Linked DNA regions of Homo sapiens: region 1 is linked to region 2. Evidence: promoter capture Hi-C in 16 types of primary human blood cells and fetal thymus (Javierre and others, 2016). All regions are on one chromosome and are shown on one strand. Each heading gives the region's core, a stretch centred on a gene start or on the middle of the fragment in contact. The rest is flanking DNA. Distances are from core to core; before and after follow the strand shown.

Region 1 (4,566 bases), core at 990-3,489, 490 kb before region 2:
CGGGCCTCGCTCCCTCACTCAGGGGGCCCTCCATCTTTGTGCCTCTCCCATATCTCATGGATCTCATGCGTTAGGCTAGTGGTTCTCACACTATAGTGAGCCTCAGAATCACCTGGAGAACTTATTAAAAATTCAGACTTATTAAAGGTGCAGGTTCATCCACAAAGACTCGATTCAGTAACCCTGGCTCGCCTCTCCATGGGTTCTGTCCTGGGGGTGGAAGGACCACATGGCGAGTTGCTGCTGTAAAGAACAGGCTGACTGTGAGAATTTGTGAGCAGGGATTTGATCAAAGCTGGCTTGAGACAGATGAGCCTGGTGCTGGGGTGAGTTGCCGGGGTAGGTCAGCTCTGGGGGAGGCGGCTGTGGTCCTTTGGTCTTGAGGTGATAAGGCGATGATGGTGGGGCAGCAGAGGGAAGGAGTGAGGGGGTGCTGGGACAGGGCTGTTGACCCAGCTGGGTGATAGCCCTGTGTTTCCAGCCTCAGGAAACCTGCTGTCTGACTCACCTGGTACTTTGCATGTATCATCTCCTGGCTCAAACAATCACTGTTGGCTTCTGCAGGAAAAAAATAAAAAATCAAATCTAGTGGCTTGACCTGCTAGGCCCTTTGTTGTCTGATTCGAACCAGCTCTGCAGCCTCTGCTCCCTGGTTTTCCTTTGACACAGTGGTTAGACCGCAAGGTGCAGGCCCAGACCTTGTGAGTTCAAATCCCAGCCCGGTGCCTTACCAAACTCAGCTTAAGCAAGTAGCTCTCAGTTTCCTAGTTGGCAAAATGGGAGTGATGACAGTGTCCACAGCATAGGGGAGCTTCGATGATTTAAACAAGTTCATGGATGCCACATACTCGAACAGAGTTAGGCATAGAGGAAGAGGCCAATACATTTAGCCTGTTTTTATAAGATTTCTTTTTTACTGGAACTTCCCACTATCCGCCACCTCCATGTCCTTACTCTAGGCACCATTTACTGTGGCTCACCCTGGGGCTGTGAAGGGCCCCCTCCTCCAGGGCGCCCTCCCTGCTTACCCAGGCCTTGATCCCTCACTCAGGGTGCCCTCCATCTGAGCTCCAGCAGCCCCGGGTCTATGTCCCTCCTCTGACCCTGGCCTGCCTCCTGCCTTTGTCAGGAGCCTACAGTGTTTACCTCTTTCTCTTCCCCGAGCTCAGGTCGTCCCCTGGGGACAGACATCCTGGCTCCAGGGCACCTGCCTGCTGGTTTCTGCTGAGCAGGACACCAGCTGTGGGACTTTAGGCAGGCTGAGGCCCCACTCTCTCTCAGTTTTCTGACCTATATAAACTGCTGGAGGTAGGCTGAAGCACGTGTTTGGGCTTTAAAAGAGGGAGAATCTTTGCTGAAGCAAAATCTCACAGAAAGCTGAGTATATAAAACCAGTGTGAATGCATGTGTGAGAAGGCCTGGGAGTGTGTGAGTGTATGTGTGAGCATGTGTATGCATGTGTGTGCATGTGTGAGTAGGTGTGAATACTGTGTGAGGTGTGTAAGTGTGTGTGAGTGTGGGTGGTCACAGCAGATCCGCTCAGCTCCCACCTCTCTGCTTAGGGCTTAGCAGGCGAGGCTTGAAGATCTCTGGGCTAGAAGATTTCTATGCCCCCATCCTACAAGTGTAGGAGTTTTGTCTAAATCATCTTGCTGGGCTTTTAGATGCTTATTATGTTTCTTTTTCTTTTTCTTTTTTTTTTTGAGACAGAGTCTTGCTCTGTTGCCCAGGCTGGAGTGCAGTGGCTCTATCTCGGCTCACTGCAAGCTCTGCTTCCCAGGCTCAAGCAATTCTTCCTGCCTCAGCCTCCCTAGTAGCTGGGATTACAGGCACTCACCACCATGCCCAGCTAATTTTTGTAGTTTTAGTAGAGATGGGGTTTCGCCATGTTGGTCAGGCTGGTCTTGAACTCCCGACCTCAGGTGATCCACCTGCCTTGGCCTCCCAAAGTGCTGGGATTACAGGTGTGAGCCACTGTGCACGGCCAAGAAGATGCTTACTATGTTTCTTAGCAGTCAAGGTGAGGATAAGGATGAGGTAACATGGACATGGCAGGAATGGGAAACTTGGGGTTCGTGAAGCCTCCTCTCTTCTCCCCATGCTCCAGCCCTTTCTTCTGAAGCCCCAGACATGGATATCCCTGTTGGGATGTGTTTGTTCGGTTTCTGTGTACCAGGTCCTCATTGTATGTTTACTCAGCGAGGACAGATATCTCTGGTGGATCTTCTCATCCCCACAGGCTCCAGCCCTAATCCCAGGCAAGGACTTTGGAGGAAGCACTTTCCTCTCCAACTCCAGCACATTCCACTGGAGGGGGAAGGGTCTTGGCAGGACTGAGCCAGGGGAGGGCAGAAGATGCTTCCTGGCACTGTGGTTCCTTGGTGCATCCCCCGTGCCTCCCTGGTGCTGGCACGGCTGGTAGGCCTTGGGCTGGTAATTGGGCAGCCTGCTGAGGGCTGATGCTGGCACTGGGTAGTTCCTGCCTGGAATGCACGTGAGATGCCTAAGGGAGCCGGTGAGGCTTTGTCTTCTGTTAATACTCTGTGTGTGTGTCTTTGAGGTGGGATAGTGTTCCTTTTCAACTGACTTCAAAAAGCGCTTCAGATACCAGGCCCCTCTCATGGGATCAGGCGTCAGCTGCTCTTCCTTGGGGCAAAGGGGATCTCCCCCGTTCTCCCTCATCTCCCCCTTAGTCCCCAGGCCTGGGCATTCCTGGTATTCCCAGCTCCTGGCAGCCCATCTCGCTATGTGATTCTCTGTGGTTTCTGCCTGATGAATGTTTATCCTGCAGCCGGTTGGAGCCGGGATGAGCAGGGCCTCAGCATCCTGTCTCCAGAGCAGCTCTGAAGCTCCTTCCAGCTGCTGTTAGGAATGCCCCTTCTGCCCCAACCCCCTGCTCACCTGGTCCAGAAACTCACTAACCTGACCACCCCTCCCCCAAGTCTGCAAGGCCCCGCTTGCCAGCCTAAAGCCAGTGGAGCCTGGAATGAGTCAGAATTGAAAATAATAAGCACTCCCCTCAACCCATGCTAGAGGTGAGACATGCTCACTGCTGCTTTTTTGAAAATGTAGAAAACACAGATCTTCATTAGAAATCATCTGTCTCTTGGCTGGGCGCAGTGGCTCACGCCAGTAATCCCAGCAGTTTGGAAGGCTGAGGTGGGTGGATCACTTGAGGTCAGGAGTTTGAGACCAGCCTGGCCAACATGGTGAAACGCTGCCTCTACTAACAATATAAAAATTAGCCAGGTGTGATGGCAGGCACCTGTAATCCCAGCTATTCAGGAGGCTGAGGCAGGAGAATCACTTGAACCCAAGAGGCAGAAGTTGCACTGAGCCAAGATTGCGCCACTGCATTCCAGCTTGGGTGATGGAGTAAGACTCTGTCTCAAAAAAAAAAAAGAAAAAAAAAAAAAAAAAAAAGAAAGTCGCCTCTTTCATACCAACCCCTAACTGTGGGCTCCGTCTGTGAAGGCAGGGCCCAGGTGGACACAGCCCTTGTCCTTCCCCTCCCTCAGCAGGCATCAGCGCTGGCAGAGATCGGGGTACAGTCATTGCTTGGTTAGTAGAACCTAATTCTGCCAGGACGCGTTCCAACACAGATCTAGGAGGGCCCCGGTGTGATTCCTTTCCTGGAGGTGGATTAGATAAACCACCGTCCCAGACCAGCTTCCTGACCTCAGTGCAAATAGGAGGCTCACACCTCAACCAGGAGCCATGCAAGATTCTCTCCTTCCCTTGTCCTCCCCATGAATCGTCAGCCTGACCTGCTGGCTCTGCCCTCGGGATATCCCTTGCACCAGGCCACTGTTCCTGAAGTCCTCTGATGTCTCCCCAGAACAAGCCCCCAGTGTCTCTCACCTGAACTCCATTAGAGCCTCTTATTAGATCTCCAGCTCTTTGGGCCCCACGGTCTATTCCACAGGGAGCAGCCAGGGGTGGGGAGGGCGTCCCAGTGCTCCTCTGCTCAAAGCACCATTACTCTCAAGATAAAAGCCAGCGCCTCCATTAGACCGCAGACACCGAGTGCTCTGTCCTGGCCTCCCCTGGGCTCATCTCCTGCACACTGTCATTCTGGCTCACCCCTCTTAACCACTGGGACTTCTTGGTGTTGCCTGAACAGACCAAGCTCCCTCTTCCTTAGGGATTTTGGCTTTGCTGTGCCCTTGGCTTGGAATAATCTTCCCTGGGGATCTGAGGGCTCCTTTGCCTCATTCAGGTCTCTGTTCATGTGTCACCTCCTCAGAGAGGCCTTCCCTGACCACCCCTCAATGGCCTTCCCTGCTGACCCCCTCCCTGGCTTTGCTACTCTGCCCCCTACCCCAGATGAAAGCCCCAGGAGGGCAGGCAGCTTTAGACTGCCCTGCTCTTGAAGCCCAGAGTCTAGAAGGTGCCTGGCACACAGAAGGTGGACCATAATTGGTGTTAAATGAAAAAAAATAAAAGGGCTTCAGGAGAAGGCTCTGTTCTGGCAAATAATCATTAAATGTTTACTAGTGCTGGAGTCAGCCCTGGGGCTAGATACAGAAGCTCCAAGTCTAGATGGGGAGACAGAGCTGTGGTAAG
Region 2 (4,505 bases), core at 1,257-3,756:
GTATTAATTTGAGGAACTAATAAATGTCCATAAAATCTTCACAATCCACGTTCTTCTGTCATGGCTTCAGTCAGTCCCTCCGTTTGGGGTTCCTGACTTCCCGCAACACCATATACATATATAGTATACATACATATATACTGTATACATATATACTATACATATTTTACTATATATGTAATACATATGTATATATACATATATACTATATATATTTTACTATATATATAGTAAAAGGTCATGTTACTATATATGTGTATATATGTGTGTATATATATATTTACTATATATATATATATTTAACAAATACAAGACACTAAGTGCCAGACATTGTTTGTTCTTAGCACTTGACAAATATTAGCTCATGTAATCCTTACAATTCTGATATGAACTATTATTATGGCCCAAGGACACACAGCCAGTAAGTGGCAGAGCTTTAAATGAGCATTGTCCAGTTTCAGAATAAGTGGGGTCAGAAAATAGGATGTGACTTGCCACCAAGTGTCAAACCGCAGAGCTGTCTGTGCTCTTACAACTCTGAGGCATGAATAACTGAAGCATGACCCATATTTTCTCTGCCTGAAAACGAAGTTTGGCTATGGGGTGTGGATAAGTGTCTTAGAGTGAATAAACACTAGAAAGGTTACTGAGTGATGCACAGATTATCTTTTTGGACCTTTATAAAGGGGAGACAGATCCTTATAAAGGGGAGAGACAGATCTTTATAAAGGGGAGAGACAGATCTCTTTAGAATGACCTTGGGTTTGAAGTTTCTGCAGTAGAGAAATGAGTCTTGTTAATGTGATGATTTAAGTCTTCCAAAGAGGCTCCCATTGCATAAAATGTGATTATCATGAAGACTCCACAGCAGCATGAAAATAAATTATGAGATAATATGTCTCGAAAAGAGCAGAATATACAACTTTTTACCTAGTTACCTCTGGTTACCACTTTGAAAAACAAAAATCCCACGTCCGTAAACAAAGAAAAGAATGTAAAACAGGAGAGTCAAAGGTCTCTAGCGATGAGATTGTGCCTGATATCTCCCTCTTCTGTTTCCCTAATTGTGACTACCGGGTCCAGTCAATTTACATTCCTCTTAAAGTTTTGAAATTATGCTTGAAATTCCATTTGGGGAGCTTTAGATGTCCGGCCCCAAGGCACATTCTTTCAAATAAAGAAAATGATCCCGAAGTGATTCAAAACCCTGTCTGGTGACTAACAGGAGGAGTAAAGCTGGAAAGTAATGGGACTGTTTCCCCCATGTAGTTCCTGAACTGCCCCTGGCAACACTTCCTGAAGAAGCGCATCCATCACGCTTTTAGCAGTGCCACAGCAGAACACTGGGCAGCCTCCCAATGCGTCTACCCCTGAACAGTGTTCTGGATATGTGTGCAATGTTGGTTGAAAACCCCTTTCTTGTCACTTGCTAATCAGAGCACCTATGTCAAAGTATATATGCATATTTCTTTTTTGAGATGGAGTCTCACTCTGTAGCCCAAGCTGGAGTGCAATGGCATGATCTCGGCTCACTGCAACCTCCGCCTTTGGGGCTCAAGTGATTCTCGTTCCCCAGCCTCCGGCACAGCTGGGACTACAGGCACTGCCACCACACCCAGCTAATTTTTTGTATTTTATTAGAGTTGAGGTTTCACCATGTTGCCCAGGGTGGTCTTGAACTCCTGAGCTCAGGTGATCCACCTGCCTTGGCCTCCCCAGGTGTTGGGATTACAGGCATGAGCCACTGCGCCCGGCCAACAAGGTATATTCAGAAAAATTTCCCATTACAGAATTCTTCATTACATGCACAAGAAAGGCAACGCTAAAAAATGACATGTTTCAGAGATAAAAATCAGCATCTTATGACAGAAAGACCAGAGTTGCACAGAACCTGAACTAGAGAAAAGAAAACATGCAAGGCAGTCTTGGAGGTTTTATTCCAACACTTAGTGGTTTGCAAAAATTTTTGTCTGTCCTGTACAACTCTATGAGCTGCTATCCTATTCAAGGCCTATGTATCCCACTATATCAAGTGATAATCAAACGTATTCCCAAGCAGACTACGTGGGAGGGCTTGTCTAACACTCGTGTGATTCACGTTTCACATGTAGGTGCTTCCAAGGACTTGAGTCCCCTATTGGGGTCAGGATAGGCTCTACTCAATGTTCTATGTACTTCTCTATGTTTTTAATTTCTTTTAAAAACTGAAGTTTTTTTAGACCGTTTTGTCCAGATTTGATCCAGTGTTATCTACTCAAAATAAGCATCAAGAGCTACTATCACCTCAAATGACGATGAGTTCTTAGATTTTCACCCAATGTGAGTACATCCATACTTAGAGATAAAACAAGAGCTCTTTAGTGAGATAATGAGTGTGTCACAAGCAACCATTAGTCAAAACAAAATTCTACTTAATTGGCCAAAAGGTAAACGAAAAGGGTCACCTGCACCCGGCCAGGGTATATAAAGGGCCCAGAGGGGGAGGAGGACATTCACACCTGAGAACATCCAGCTCCTCTCCACAGCCCAACCCACACCAGCCTCAGACACCACCATGACCGGCTCCTGCTGCGGCTCCACCTTCTCCTCCCTGAGCTACGGGGGAGGCTGCTGCCAGCCCTGCTGCTGCCGCGACCCCTGCTGCTGCCGCCCCGTGACCTGCCAGACCACCGTGTGCCGCCCCGTGACCTGCGTGCCCCGCTGCACGCGCCCCATCTGCGAGCCCTGCCGCCGCCCGGTGTGCTGCGACCCCTGCTCCCTGCAGGAAGGCTGCTGCCGCCCCATCACCTGCTGCCCCTCGTCGTGCACGGCTGTGGTGTGCAGGCCCTGCTGCTGGGCCACCACCTGCTGCCAGCCTGTGTCTGTGCAGTCCCCCTGCTGCCGGCCCCCCTGCGGCCAGCCGACCCCTTGCAGCACCACCTGCAGGACCTCCTCCTGCTGAGCCACCACCTGCTGCCAGCCTGTGTCTGTGCAGTCCCCCTGCGGCCAGCCGACCCCTTGCAGCACCACCTGCAGGACCTCCTCCTGCTGAGCAGTGCACTGACTGCCCGGAACGCGTAACTCACCTTCTGAAAAAGTCACACTCCCATTTCTCTACTTTAACAAACCTCCTGCCCTGAGCCCACAAAACCCCACATCAACCAAGCAGGGAACCGAGCACTGGGCTCATCTATTAAGACCTGGGCCATTCTGAAGTCTGTAAAAGAAGCAATTTCCTTCTTCTTAAGATTTCGTGGCATGTTTATTTTCTAATAAATATCTGTTCTTTGGCCTTGCAAAAAGATTTGGTTTTATTTACTCATTCTAATATTTTGTATTAAATTAATTTTTTAATTAAAAAAACTGACACATAATTGTACATATTTATGGGGTGCAATGTAATGTTTCCATACATGTATACGTTGTGTAATAATCAAGTCAGGGTGTTTAGCATATTCGTCACCTCATACATTTATCATTTCTTCATGGTAAGATCATTTAAAATATTCTCTGATCGCTATTTTGAAATATATGATAAAATATTACTAACCACAGTCACCCTACTGTACATTAGAATACCAAAACTTATCCCTCCTATCTACCTGTAACTTTGTACCTGTAGACCAATCTCTGCCTATCCTCCCCTCCTCTCACCCTCCCCAGCCTCTGGTAGTCACTATTCTACTCTCTACTTCTATGAGATCAACTTCTTTAGATTTCACATAGGAGTGAGTGAATGTGCTATTTGTCTTTCTGTGCCTGGTTAATTTCACTTAACATAATGTCCCCCAGGTTCATCCATGTTGCTGCACATGACAGTATTTCATTCTTTTTCATGGCTGATAGTATTTCATTGTGTGTTTGGGTGTGAGTGTGTGTCACATTTTCTTTATCCATTCATCCATTGATGAACACTTAGATTGTTTTCATATGTTGGCTGTTGTGAATCGTGCTGCAATAAACATGGAAGTGCAGAAATCTCCTCAACATACTGATTTCATTTCCTTTGCGTATATACTCAGTAGTGGGATTCCTGGATCACATGATCGTCCTATTTTTAATTTTTGGGGAACCCTCCATACTGTTTTCCATAATGGCTATACTACTTTACATTCCCTCTAACCTTGTATGAGTTCCCTTTTTTCCACATCCACACCAGCATTTGTTATCTTTTTGTATTTTTGATAATAGCCATTCTAATTGTGGTGATATGGTATCTCATTGCGGTTTTGATTTGCATTTCCTGATGATTAGTGATGCTGAGCACTTCTTCATATATGTGTTGGAAATTTGTATGTTTTCTTTTGTGAAATATCTATTCAGGTCTTTTACCTATTTTTAATTGGATTTTTTATTATTATTCACTGTTGAGTTGTTCAAGTTCCTTATATATTCTAGATATTAACCCCTGGTCAGATGCATAGTTTGAAAATATTTTCTCCCAAATTTTTGCAATCTACTCATCTGACAAAGGGCTAATATCCAGAATCTACAAAGAACTCAAACAAATTTACAAGAAAAAAACA

Evidence for each region. Contacts are between HindIII fragments. The CHiCAGO score rates a contact against its expected background, and 5 or more counts as called.
Region 1: a contact is called between a fragment that was not itself captured here and the fragment with the promoter of KRTAP2-1 in region 2, in 5 of 17 cell types (total CD8 T cells, naive CD8 T cells, total CD4 T cells and 2 more). The highest score is 8.2, in total CD8 T cells.

The regions. Positions count from the first base shown.
Region 1 is chr17:41,537,093-41,541,658 of GRCh38, reverse strand. No RefSeq gene overlaps it. Among named protein-coding and RNA genes, the nearest start is that of KRT19, 11 kb to the right of the region's middle. RefSeq lists an enhancer at 1,866-2,486. The HindIII fragment of the contact is 5,266 bases long and covers 1-4,566 here.
Region 2 is chr17:41,045,317-41,049,821 of GRCh38, reverse strand. KRTAP2-1 (keratin associated protein 2-1) reads left to right here and starts at 2,506. Exons shown (of 1, transcript NM_001123387.1): 1 at 2,506-3,281. The coding sequence starts at 2,555. The coding sequence ends at 2,941. The HindIII fragment of the contact is 11,978 bases long and covers 1-4,505 here.